2 separate regions of the Homo sapiens genome follow, and region 2 is linked to region 1. The links are contacts of gene promoters, found by promoter capture Hi-C in human tissues and cell types (Jung and others, 2019). All regions are on one chromosome and are shown on one strand. The core of a region is centred on a gene start or on the middle of the fragment in contact, and the rest is flanking DNA. Distances in the headings are between cores, read along the strand shown.

What was found. Contacts are between HindIII fragments. The study calls those that stand out against the background at their distance.
Region 2: a contact is called between a fragment that was not itself captured here and the fragment with the promoter of OAZ1 in region 1, in 1 of the 25 tissues and cell types used here (stomach).

The regions. Positions count from the first base shown.
Region 1 is chr19:2,265,855-2,271,586 of GRCh38, reverse strand. OAZ1 (ornithine decarboxylase antizyme 1) reads right to left here and starts at 2,101. Exons shown (of 5, transcript NM_004152.3): 1 at 1,843-2,101; 2 at 57-202. The coding sequence starts at 1,988. It overlaps LOC105372240 (a long non-coding RNA gene), which reads left to right and starts at 2,334. Exons shown (of 2, transcript XR_936242.3): 1 at 2,334-2,485; 2 at 2,715-3,094. RefSeq lists silencers at 260-599, 610-809, 1,020-1,079, 2,045-2,534 and enhancers at 1,788-2,402, 4,898-5,067. The HindIII fragment of the contact is 6,913 bases long and covers 849-5,732 here.
Region 2 is chr19:1,930,790-1,936,435 of GRCh38, reverse strand. No RefSeq gene overlaps it. Among named protein-coding and RNA genes, the nearest start is that of CSNK1G2, 7.6 kb to the left of the region's middle. The HindIII fragment of the contact is 4,225 bases long and covers 1-3,669 here.

The DNA.
Region 1 (5,732 bases), core at 852-3,351:
ACAAGAAAGTACCTGTGGCCCCAGAGCAGCCCCAGCAGGCCCGGCCCCATACTCACGGAGTAGAATAAGTTAGCTGAAAGATTGTGATCCCTCTGACTATTCCCTCGCCCACCTGGGATCTTCAGGGGTGGGTGAGGGGCATCAGGAGCACCACCGAGGCCCCGGACCCGGGTTACTACAGCAGTGGAGGGAGACCCTGGAACTGAAGATGATGCAGGTCACGAGGCAGCGCCAGGCTCCGGGCGGAGACCCCTCCAGGGCGTCCGGGCGGCCTTCAGCACATCCCCACCCCTGCCTCGGCCAAAAGACCCCGCCCCGCCCAGGCAGGGGCCCACCCGGTCCCACACCCCCGAGGCTTCCCGAAGGCAGCTCCAACGCCTGCCCCAAGCACCTACAAGGGCAGCAGTCACTGAGCCCCGACTCCTCGGGCGGCGCCGCCCAGGACAGCCCAACCTTCCCAGGGCGGGGGGCCCCTTCCCCTCACGCAGCCCCGCCGGGGCAGAGCCTCACCCCCCGGCCACCAAGACAGCCAGCGCTTCCCCTTTTCAGTTCTGTCGCGGCTTCCCCTTTCCACCCTGCACTACGGCCAAAATCTGGGACTCTTGCTTGTCCCCGCGAAGACCGGGCGGGCCTAGCCTGACCTCATGGAGGACGCGCCCCGCTCCGGCTCCCGGCCGCCCGCCCCCCCGCCCCCGCTCCAGGCCCGGGCCCTCCCGGTTGCGTCATCCAGGCAGACGCGGCCTCGCGCCCCGGGGGAGATTTTCACAATCGCGCAGCCGGCAGCGCCAGCAGCCATTTGCTGCGCAGGGTAAACAGGCCCCAAAGTTGCCTCCATTTTGCACGGCCCCCAAACCGCGGCACCGCCAGCACCGCGGCCCAACCTCCCGATCCGGGGCTGAGCGACGCCCACCTCGGGGGACGCAGTCGGGAAAGCTCGACCGAGACCCCGCGGGCTCCCCCACAACCGCAGCTGGCACCCGCGCCCCCGGAAGCGGGACGCGTCTTCCCGGGAAGCGGCGGGGGTCTTCCCAGGGCGCTGCCGGGCTGTCGGAGTGCGCCACCCCCAGCTCCCCGGCGGCCCCCGCGGAGAAGCCCTGGGTGCCGTCTACGTGCGCGGCCTCGCCCGGCGCGTCCCGGGCCATCCAGACCGACTCGCTCAGGGGCGAAAAACGGGGCCCACGAGGTCCGTCGCGTGCAGGGGCCACATCGAGGCAACAGGGACCCGCGGGAGCTCGTCCACCGCAAAGCGCTCCCCGCTCCCGCAGCGCACGCTCGACGGCCGGGACCGAAAAGTGCAGATTCACCAGCCCCGCGGGCCCTGCCTGTCCGCGGACCAGCCCCCCAAGGCCGACCCCGCCCCCAACCAGATTGCCCCATCCTGCGCCTCCCAAATCCGACCCGACCGCACACCCTTCCTCCAAACCGAATTCCCAGTCTGCGCCCCGCAAATCCAACCCTCGACCAGAAGCCTCTCCCCTCCTCCGAAGCCGAGTCCCATCCCGCGAACCCCGCAAAAGACACACGCCTCCCCCGACTCCCCGTCCTGCGCCCAAATCCGACCTCCGACCCATGCCCCTCCCGCAAATCAGGCGCCCCGGACGGTGCCCCCCAAATCCAACTCCGCACCCTTGCCCCCCAAACCCGACTCCCCCGAGAGCACTGCTAAGGCCGGGGGGGACCTCCAGGCCCGCCCTGCGCCTACCTCGTCCCCGGCGCGATTCTGGCCTTGACAAAGGGGCGGATCTCGCGCGCCGGGGACCTATCTGGCGCCCCGAGGACGGCCCCCCGCAGGCCTGCGCGGCCGGCGCTTCTGGAAGCTTCGGACGGGGGCGGGGCACTTACCTCTCACTGCTGCTGCCGCCGCGGCTGTGCAGGCTTAGGAGCGGCATGGTGCGGCTGGCGTGGATGGTGGCGCTGGGTTTATCCCCTTCCTTCTCTCTGGCGAAGCAGTGGCTATTGAGGATCCGCTGCAGGGAGGATTTCACCATCCGGCCGCTGGGGTCCGAAACCAGGAAAACCTCCGCTGCGTCTCTCCGCGCCGCCGCCGCTGCTCGCCGTTCGCAAAATGGCGCCTCTGCCGCCGCCCGCCTTTATAGATGCTGCGCCCAGGCCACGCCCCCCGCGCCGCCGGGAACGCGACCGCACGAGGGGCAGAGCCGCGGGGCCGCCGGGAAAAAAAGTCGCGCCCGCCCCTCCCAGCGCCTGATTGGTGAAAGGGAAAGGGAAAGGAAGAGGCTCTCTGGAGATTGGTTGGTGAGCCTCGGGCCACGCCCCCTCCTGCGCGCGTCCTTCTGGGGGCGGGGCTGCCGTGGCGCCGGGTACGCGCTGCGCGCGCCCCGAGCCGTCCCCGCCCCCACAATCGTGCCTTGGGGGCGGGGGCGGCTCGCTGGGGCCGATTTTCGGGGGTCTTCGAGTGCCCGTTTGTCTGTCGTGGTCCACGTCGCCCTCCCTAGGGTCCCTTCACGCAGCGGGACCCCTCCCCTGGGTAGGCCCCCGGGTGCTTGGGGGGTTGTCCAACCGCGCCAGAATTATTTCCAGTAACACCTGGTAATCATCGATGATATTACTGGTTTTATTTTTTTAAATTTGGTCTTGCAGTTCTTAAAATGCTTCCAGTGTTTAAAAAAAAAGAACTTCCAATGTTAAAGATATTCAAATTTAGTAAAATATTTCGTGTACAATTTGGACTTAAGCAAAAATTTTACTCCTTGCAGATAAATTCAGATTTTTCCTGTGGAAACTGAAACTTACCCTAAGGAAAAACACTACTCCTGGCAGTTAAAATTCAGAAACACATCTCATGTATGAACTAAAATGTGGATCTCCCAAGGAAAAAACGATTTCTTTGGTGGTCAAGTTCGGTAAACTGTTTCGCCTGTGAGGTAAAATGTGGACTTACCTAGCAAAAATATTTCCCCTCCTGGTTAAATCCAGAAAAAAAATCTCAGGTATGAACTGCACTTTGCTTTTAATAAGCAAAGATATAACTCTTGGCAGTCACATACGGGTACATAGCTTGTGTGTAGACTAAATTATGAATTTAGCAAAAAGTTGCCACTTTGCAGTGAGGTTTAATAAAATATTTTTTATTTCATGTATAAACAAAATTTTGTTCTTACCAAGCAAAAATGCTACTCCTGGCAAATCCTGATTCCTTTCATGGTTTTAATTTTGTTTTGTTTGCGACCGGGCCTGGCTGTCACCCAGGCTGGAGTGCAGTGGCGCAATCTCGGCTCGCTGCAACCTCCGCCTCCCAGGTTCAAGCGATTCTCCTGCTTCAGCCTCCTGAGGAGCTGGGATTACAGGTGCCCGCCACCACGCCCGGCTAATTTTTGTATTTTTAGTAGAGATGGGGTTTCACCATGTTGGCAAGGCTGGTCTGGAACTCCTGACCTCAGGTGATCCGCCTGCCTCGACCTCCCAAAGTTTGGGGATTAACAGGCGTGAGCCACCGCGCCTGCCTGTCTTTCGAGATTTCGTACTGCACCAGAAGGCTGTTGTTGCATCTCTGCTACGAGCATTCGCTATTCAGGTGTTGAGGCAGAAATTAACTCCTGCGGTTGACATTTGGGGCCGCCCTGGGCACTGCAGGGCGCTGAGCAGCGTCCCTGGCCTCCACCCACTCCATGCCTTGAGCACCCCCAGTTGTGACAACCACAAGTATCCGCAGACATCACCCAGTGTCCCTTGGCGGGGGCAGAATCACCCTGGGTGAGACTCCCGAGTTAGGGGATTCCACGGACCCCCCCAAGAGACTCTGCATCCCATGATCCTCTGCCCTGCTGAGGTCCCAGGAGACTGCGCACGTTGAAATCCACACCTTGAGGCAGAGGTTGCAGTGAGCTGAGATGGCGCCGCTGCACTCCAGCCTGGTGACAGAGCGAGACTCTGTCACAAAAAAAACAAAAAAAAAGCAATCCACACCCTGAGTGGGGAAGGAGAGAGGAGAAGCATCCCAGGAGCTGGGGGCCTCCTGGTTTATACCGTTTGCCCCATTAGGAGTTTATCCTGAGGCTGGGCACGGTGGCTCACGCCTGTAATCCCAGCACTTTGGGAGGCCGAGGCGGGTGGATCACGAGGTCAGGAGTGCAAGACCAGTCTGGCCAACATGGTGAAACCCCGTCTCTACTAAAAATACAAAAATTAGCTGGGCATGGTGGCGCGTGCCTGTAATCCCAGCTACTCAGGGGGCTGAGGCAGGAGAATTGCTTGAACTGGCACCCGGGAGGTGGAGGTTGCAGTGAGCCAAGATTGCACCACTACACTCCAGCCTGGGCTACAGAGCGAGACTCCATCTCAAAAAAAAGGAGTTTATTCTGGTGTCTGGTGTGAGCAGAGAACAGACTCTGTTTCAAATAATTAACTCAGGGTCTCCTCCCTCGGACCCGTGGACATTGGGCTTGGATTGTTCTCTGGGGTGGGGCATCCTGGGCAAATGGTATGAACCAGGAGGGCCCCAGCTCCTGGGATGCTTCTCCTCTCTCCTTCCCCACTCAGGGTGTGGATTGCTTTTTTTTTTGTTTTTTTGTTTTTTGAGACGGAGTCTCGCTCTGTTGCCAGGCTGGACTGCAGCGTCCTGGGCACTGCAGGGTACTGAGCAGCGTCCCTGGCCTCCACCCACTCCATGCCAGGAGCACTCCAAGTCATGACAACCAGAAATGTCCCAAACATCATCCAATGTCCCTTGGGGGCAGAATGACGCCCCTAAGTTGAGGACCTCCTCTGGGAACAGAGGCAAGAGCCTGCTCGAAATGAACAGGTCACCGGTGCGATTTCCAGAACAGCCACGACCAGGGAGCCCCATCCCTCCATCCTGACTGCAGCAGCTCTCACTTCCTCCTCCTGCCTGCCTCTGATGGCCGCCTGCCAATGCTGTGAGGCTTCTAGAAGGGCCACCCCCACACTGGCCAGGCCACGTGGGATGAGCGCTAGGATCAGCAACTGCGCCCTGCTGGCCCACCTGGCCGGGTTCCCCAGAAACTCCCCAGGGTGGGAGGTGCTTTGCTGGGAGCTGGGGAGTCTGTGACTGGTGAGGGGCCTCCCGGACAGCAGGGAGAGAAAGAGGCATATCTTTCTCTGGAGGTGGTGAGGCTTGAACTGTCTGAAAGGGACAGCAGAGGATGTGGGGTGGTCAAGGATAGAGGGCCCATGCCTGGGTTTTCTTCTGAAATCAAGGTTGAGGGGATACGGCTGCTGGCAGAGGACGCAGAGAGTATGACTCTGATTGATTGATTGATGGACTGATTTTTTTTTTTTTTTTTTGAGACAGAGTCTCACCTGTAGCCCAGGCTGGAGTGCAGTGGCGTAACCTTGGCTCACTGCAACCTCCACCTACAGGGTTCAAGCGATTCTCCTGCCTCAGCCTCCCGAGAAGCTGGGACTACAGGCGTGCACCACCATTCCCGGCTAATTTTTGTGTTTAGTGGAGACAGGGTTTCACCATATTGGCCAGGACGGTCTCAAACTCCTGACTTCATGATCTACGTGCCTCCCAAAGTGCTGGGATTACAGGTGTGCCACCGCACCTGGCTGTTTGGTTTTTGAGACAGAGTCTCACTTTGTCACCAGGCTGGAGTTCAGGGTCATGATCTCGGCGGCTCACTGCAACCTCCCCTTCCCAGGTTCAAGTGATTCTCCTGCCTCGGCCTCCCAAGTAGTTGGGAATTACAGGCTCACGCCACCAGGCCCAGTTAATTTTGGTATTTTTAGTAGAGACGGGATTTCACCATATT
Region 2 (5,646 bases), core at 308-2,807, 330 kb after region 1:
ACTCCAAGCTTCTTCCGTCCGTGGTGGCAGCTGTGGCTTAGTTTAGCAACCCCCAAATAAAACAGAGCTCTTCTCTCCCAGGATCGCTATAAAATCCCAGGAAAGTCTCTTATTGTCTGGCATTGGCCCCTCCCAGATGACTGGCCAGGCCTGGTTTAGGCAATGTCCTGGTGACCAGAAGGGCAGGTTCCACGAGGGGCAGCGCCCTGAGAACACAGGAGTCGGGTGGGCCAGGTTCCCCACAGCAGGAGGAGTAGTTGCCGGGGAAGGGGAAGGACGCTGAGCAGATGACAACAGCTGCCTGCGACTTGGCGGCAGCGTTCAGAGCAGCTCCAGTGACAAAGGGCTTTCCCGCCTGGAGTGGCTCACTGCCCAGTCTTGGCCCTGCCAGCCTCAGTGGCCTCCCTGCAAGGGGACAGTCCTGGCCATCATCTCCGGGTCCAGCTCTGGACAGCAGGGATCAAGTGACTCATGCCCTGGGCTGAAAATGTACATGACCTTGCAATTTTCCTGAATTTGCTCCAGGAACAAGAGACAAAGCTAATTCCCAGGAAGAGGAGGAGGGATCTGCCCTGTAGTTGCCCTTGACCAGGTCCCTGGGCCTCAACCTTATCTATAAAAGGATAGAGTTGAAGACGGATTGAACTGCCAAATTGGTTTCCTCCTGGTGCTGCTCGATTGATTGGTGATGTCTGCTTTGTGCATGGGAGGGAAGCAGTGTGGGCATCATTGGTTGATTGGTGATGTCTGCCCTGTGCACAAGAGGAAGGAAGGCAGGACAAACAGCAGCGTTCCCCAGTCAACCAACATCATTGCTTGATTGGTGATGCCTACCCTGTACACAGGAGGAAGGAGGTCAGGAGAAACATCATTCGATGATTAATTGGTGATGTCTGCCCATGTTGCCATGTTGGCCAGGTTGGTCTCCAACTCATGACCTCAGGTGATCCACCTGCCTCAGCCTCCCAAAGTGCTGGGTTTACAGGCATGAGCCACTGCGCCTGGCCCGATTCTACAACTTTTTTCTATTTCCTCATTTTAGATCATTCCAGAACTTTCTGGGAATTACACCCAACAGTCTCTAGTAGGGCATAAACACAGACTTGGGGGAAAAGAAGACCTGTCTTTGCAGCCAGTGGCGACACCCCTTCCCAGCTGGGAGGCTGGGCCTGCCCAGCACTGCATTCCCATATGCAGCGCAGCCAACGGAACAGGGCGACGTCAGGAAGTTTTGGTGGGTGAGGAAGCAGCACAGAGCAGGGTCTGCCCTCACCCCCACCAACCGCAGGGACAGAGCCTGGCGGCAGTGGGTGGCCCCAGAGCCAAGTGTGGGGCACTGGGATCTGCCTCTTCACAGGGGCACGGGATCCAGTCAGAGGATGGGTGACTCTGAGAGAAGTTTCTCTCCTTTGTCTACTTTCTCTGCTGTCCCAGAGAATGAAGGCTCATCCTGCAGCGTCCTTTGAGGGTACATGGCTGTGTGTTTGTGTGTCTGTGTGGGATGCTGTGTGTTGATGTTTGTGTGTGTCTGTGTGTATGTCCATGGATGGGTGTATGTTTGTGTGTTTTGTGTGTCTGTCTATGATGTAACATGTTGGTGTGTGTGGATACATGTCCATGCATTTGTATTTTGGGTTTTTTTTTTTTTTTGAGACGGAGTCTCGCTCTGTCGCCCAGGCTGGAGTGCAGTGGCGCAAGCTCCACCTCCCGGGTTCCCACCATTTTCCTGCCTCAGCCTCCCGAGTACCTGGGACTACCGGCGCCCACCACCACGCCCAGCTAATTTTTGGTATTTTTAGTAGAAACGGGGTTTCACCGTGTTAGCCAGGATGGTCTAGATCTCCTGACCTTGTGATCCACCCACCTCGGCCTTGCAAAGTGCTGGGATTACAAGCGCGAGCCACTGCGCCCGGTCATATTTTGTGTTTCGTGTTTTGTTTTTCTGAGACAGGGTCTCCCTCTGTCACCCAGGCTGGAGTGCAGAGATTCAATCATAGCTCACTGCAGCCCTCACTTCCCAGGCTCAAGTGATCCCCCTGCCTCGGCCTCCCAAAGTGTTGGGATTACAGGCATGAGCCACCGCAACCGGCCTGCATTTTGTATATGTGTTTGTTGTTTTCCAGTGTGTATGTCCATGTACATGTGTGCACGGGTGTGTGTGTGTTAGGTGTGTCTGTGTGAGGTGGCATGTTGGTATGTGTGGTCCATGTGTTCATGCATTTGTGTCATATGTATCTGCGTACATGTGTGCATATGTATGTGTGTGCACATGTCTGTCTCTGGGTCTTTGTGTGCGTGGGTGTGTGTGCGCACCTGTGCATCTGGGTGTGTGTGTGTGTGTTCGTCGGTGGGTCTATGGGGGGGTGTGCATTTGTGTGCCTGTGTTTGGCATGCCTGTGTGTGGTGTGTGTTGGTTTGTGTATTGTGTGTGTGAGCATGTGAGTGCCTGCATGGGGGGTATTCAGGAACGCTGCTGTGAATGGCATCGCTCAGCGTCAGGGAACCGTCTTGCTCCAGGTTTTGGGCTGTTTCATGGAGGCTGGGGGATGTTCTTGTTGATGATGCAGCCCACTTGGACTTAACTTATTTTTGGTCATATTGCACCTAAATGGTCCTCCTGGCATTCACTCTGTTCATTTGCCCCTGGTGCCTGGGGACTCCTCCCATGGTGGTGACCAGGGTCTCTCCCACATCTCTTGTCACCAAGGCCAGCCACAGAGGGCAGCCTGCAGTGGACAGGGTGCAGGACAGGGCAACAATGACCATGATGCTTCATGGAAGATGTGAGCTCCCCCCAGGGAGCCTCCCATCCAGAGCCCCCACCCCTCAGCTCGATGGAATGCCCAGCCCCTTGGTGCTGCAACCCCAGTAGGAGGGTGGCATCCTGGACCCAGGCAACAGGGATGCTGCATGCCACAAACACTGAGACACAAAGAAGAAGTGGTTCAAAAGCTGGGTGTGATGGTCACAGATTCTTTGCTGCTCCTCCCACGGAAAGACACAGTTCATTTCCCCTCCCCTGAATGTAGCTGCTCCTGTGACCTGTTTTAGCAACAGAAGGCAGGGGAAGTGGTGCCTTGAGACTTCTGAGGGAGGGTCTTACGAGCTCGACAGTAGGCTGGGCATGGTGCTTACACCTGTCATCCCAGCACTTGGGGAGGCCGAGGCGGGCAGATCACCCGAGGTCAGGAGTTTGAGACCAGCCTAGCCAGCACGGTGAAACCCTGTCTCTACTAAAAATACAAAATTAGCTGGGCGTGGTGGTGGGCACCTGTAATCCCAGCTACTCGGGAAGCTGAGGCAGTAGAATCACTTGAACCTGGGAGGTGGAGGTTGCAGTGAGCCGAGACTGCGCCATTACACTCCAGCCTGGGTGACAGAGTGAGACTGTGTCTCAAAAAAAAAAAAAAAAAAAAAAGAACTCAACAGCGTCCTTTCTGCTTGGAACCCAGCTGCCATCTTGTGAGGCAGCCACCTGGAAGCCCCTGGGTGATGGCACCACTGAGCAGGCACCACCTGCCAGCCCTGTGAGTGAGCTACCTCAAACATTCCCGGCCAGGGAAAGCCACTAAATGATTGCTGATTACCCCCCATCACCACAGGGAGCAGAACTGCCCAGCTGAGCCCGGACACCCCGCATCATGTCAGATATAATCCACTGCCATTCTACCTTAGCCACCCCAAATCCCTAGGGCTGAATGAGGTCATCAAATAATGATTCCTCTCCCACTTTCTCCCCTCTGCTAGTCCCTGGCAGACTGGAGGATGGCCCAGAGGCAGCCAGGTGAGGGGTGACGCCCTTCAAGGCCCTGCTCCAGTGGTCCTCACCAACTACAACCGCCCTGCAGAGCCCCGCTGTGCCCTGCACCTGCTCCCCGGCCCTCATGCCGCTGCCAGGAGTGTCTGTGCTCATCTGTCTTCTCTCCCCTCCAGCCTGAGAAAGCTCCTTCTTCCCACCCCTTACCAGAAATATAAATTGGCCGGGCGCGGTGGCTCATGCCTGTAATCTCAGCACTTTGGGAGGCTGAGGCAGGCAGATCACGAGGTCAGGAGATCGAGGCCATCCTGGCTAACATGGTGAAACCCCGTCTCTACTAAAAATACAAAAAATTAGCCAGGCATGGTGGCGGGCGCCAGTAGTCTCAGGTACTTGGGAGGCTGAGGCAGGAGAATGGCGTGAACCCAGGAGGCAGAGCTTGCAGTGAGCCAAGATGGTGCCGCTGCACTCCAGCCTGGGTGACAGAGTGAGACTCCGTCTCAAAACAAAAAAAAAGAAAAAAAGAAATATAAATTTACTCCTTGCCCCTTCTGTGTTTCAAAGGAGGGTGGCTTTTCAAAGTCCCCACAATGGGGACAGCATTCGAGGCTGCCTCAATGGCTGGTTCCACTTCGCAGCCCCATCTATCCATCAGGACGCCCTCTGCACCCATACTGACTTGTTCCTTTCCAACCCACCCTGACCCTCCACCCATCTGAGCCTTGTCTGGCTTCTCTCAGCCCAACAGGTCTGGCAAAGCTCAGGCAGATGATCACCTCTTTTGGGAGGACTCCATGATACATCAGGCCAAATGAATCCAACCCACCAGCCTCTGGAACTGCTTTCGTCCATGTACTTATGTGTTCTGCCTTCCATGATGGATATTCATGGTCTGTCTGCCCCACTAGGCAGCAGCTCCTGAGGACAGGAACTAAACCTCTTTAAAATGCCTTCAAAAACCCTGCCATGCACCCTGATACAGCCCTAGTTAGTGTACATATTATTATCAGGTTTCTGAAGATAATCCAGGAACACCTATTGTATCAGTCAGCTACTGCTGCATAACAAATTATACCAAACTCAGTGGCCTAAAACAACACATGTCTTTGTGATATGACTGGTGAAATAAATTAAGCAAAAACAAATTATTATTTTTTTTAATAAAAAAGAAGAGGCTGGGAGCCATGGCTCATGCCTGTAATCCCAGCACTTTGGGAGGCTGAGGCAGGCAGATCACCTGAGGTCAGGGGTTTGAGACCAGCTTGGCCAATATGGTGAAACCCAATCTCTACTAAAAATACACAAAAATTAGCTGGGTGTGGTGGCGGGCGCCTGTAGTCCTGGCTACTTGGGCGGCTGAGGCAGGGAAATCTCTTGAACCTGGGAAGCAGAGGTTGCAGTGAACCGAGATCGCACCACTACACTCCAGCCTGGGCAAAGAGCAAGACTCCATCTCAAATAAATAAATAAATAAATAAATAAATAAAACAAAAATAAAATTAATAAATAAAACAACAGACATCTTATCAAGTTTCTGGGGCTCAGAAGACTGGAAATGACTCAACTGGGGGGCCAGGCATGGTGGCTCATGCCTGTAATCCCAGCACTTTGGGAGGCTGAGGCGGGTGAATCACCTGAGGTTGGGAGTTTGAGACCAGCCTGACCAGCAAGGAGAAACAGAAACCCTGTCTCTGCTAAAAATACAAAAGTTAGCTGGGCATGGTGGCACATGCCTGTAGTCCCAGCTACTCTGGAGGCTGAGGCAGGAGAATTGCTTGAACCCAGGAGGTGGTGGTTGTAGTGAGCCGAGATCACGCCACTGCACTCCAGCCTGGGCAACAAGAACAAAACTCCGTCTCAAAAAAAAAAAAAGAAAAGAAAAAAATGAC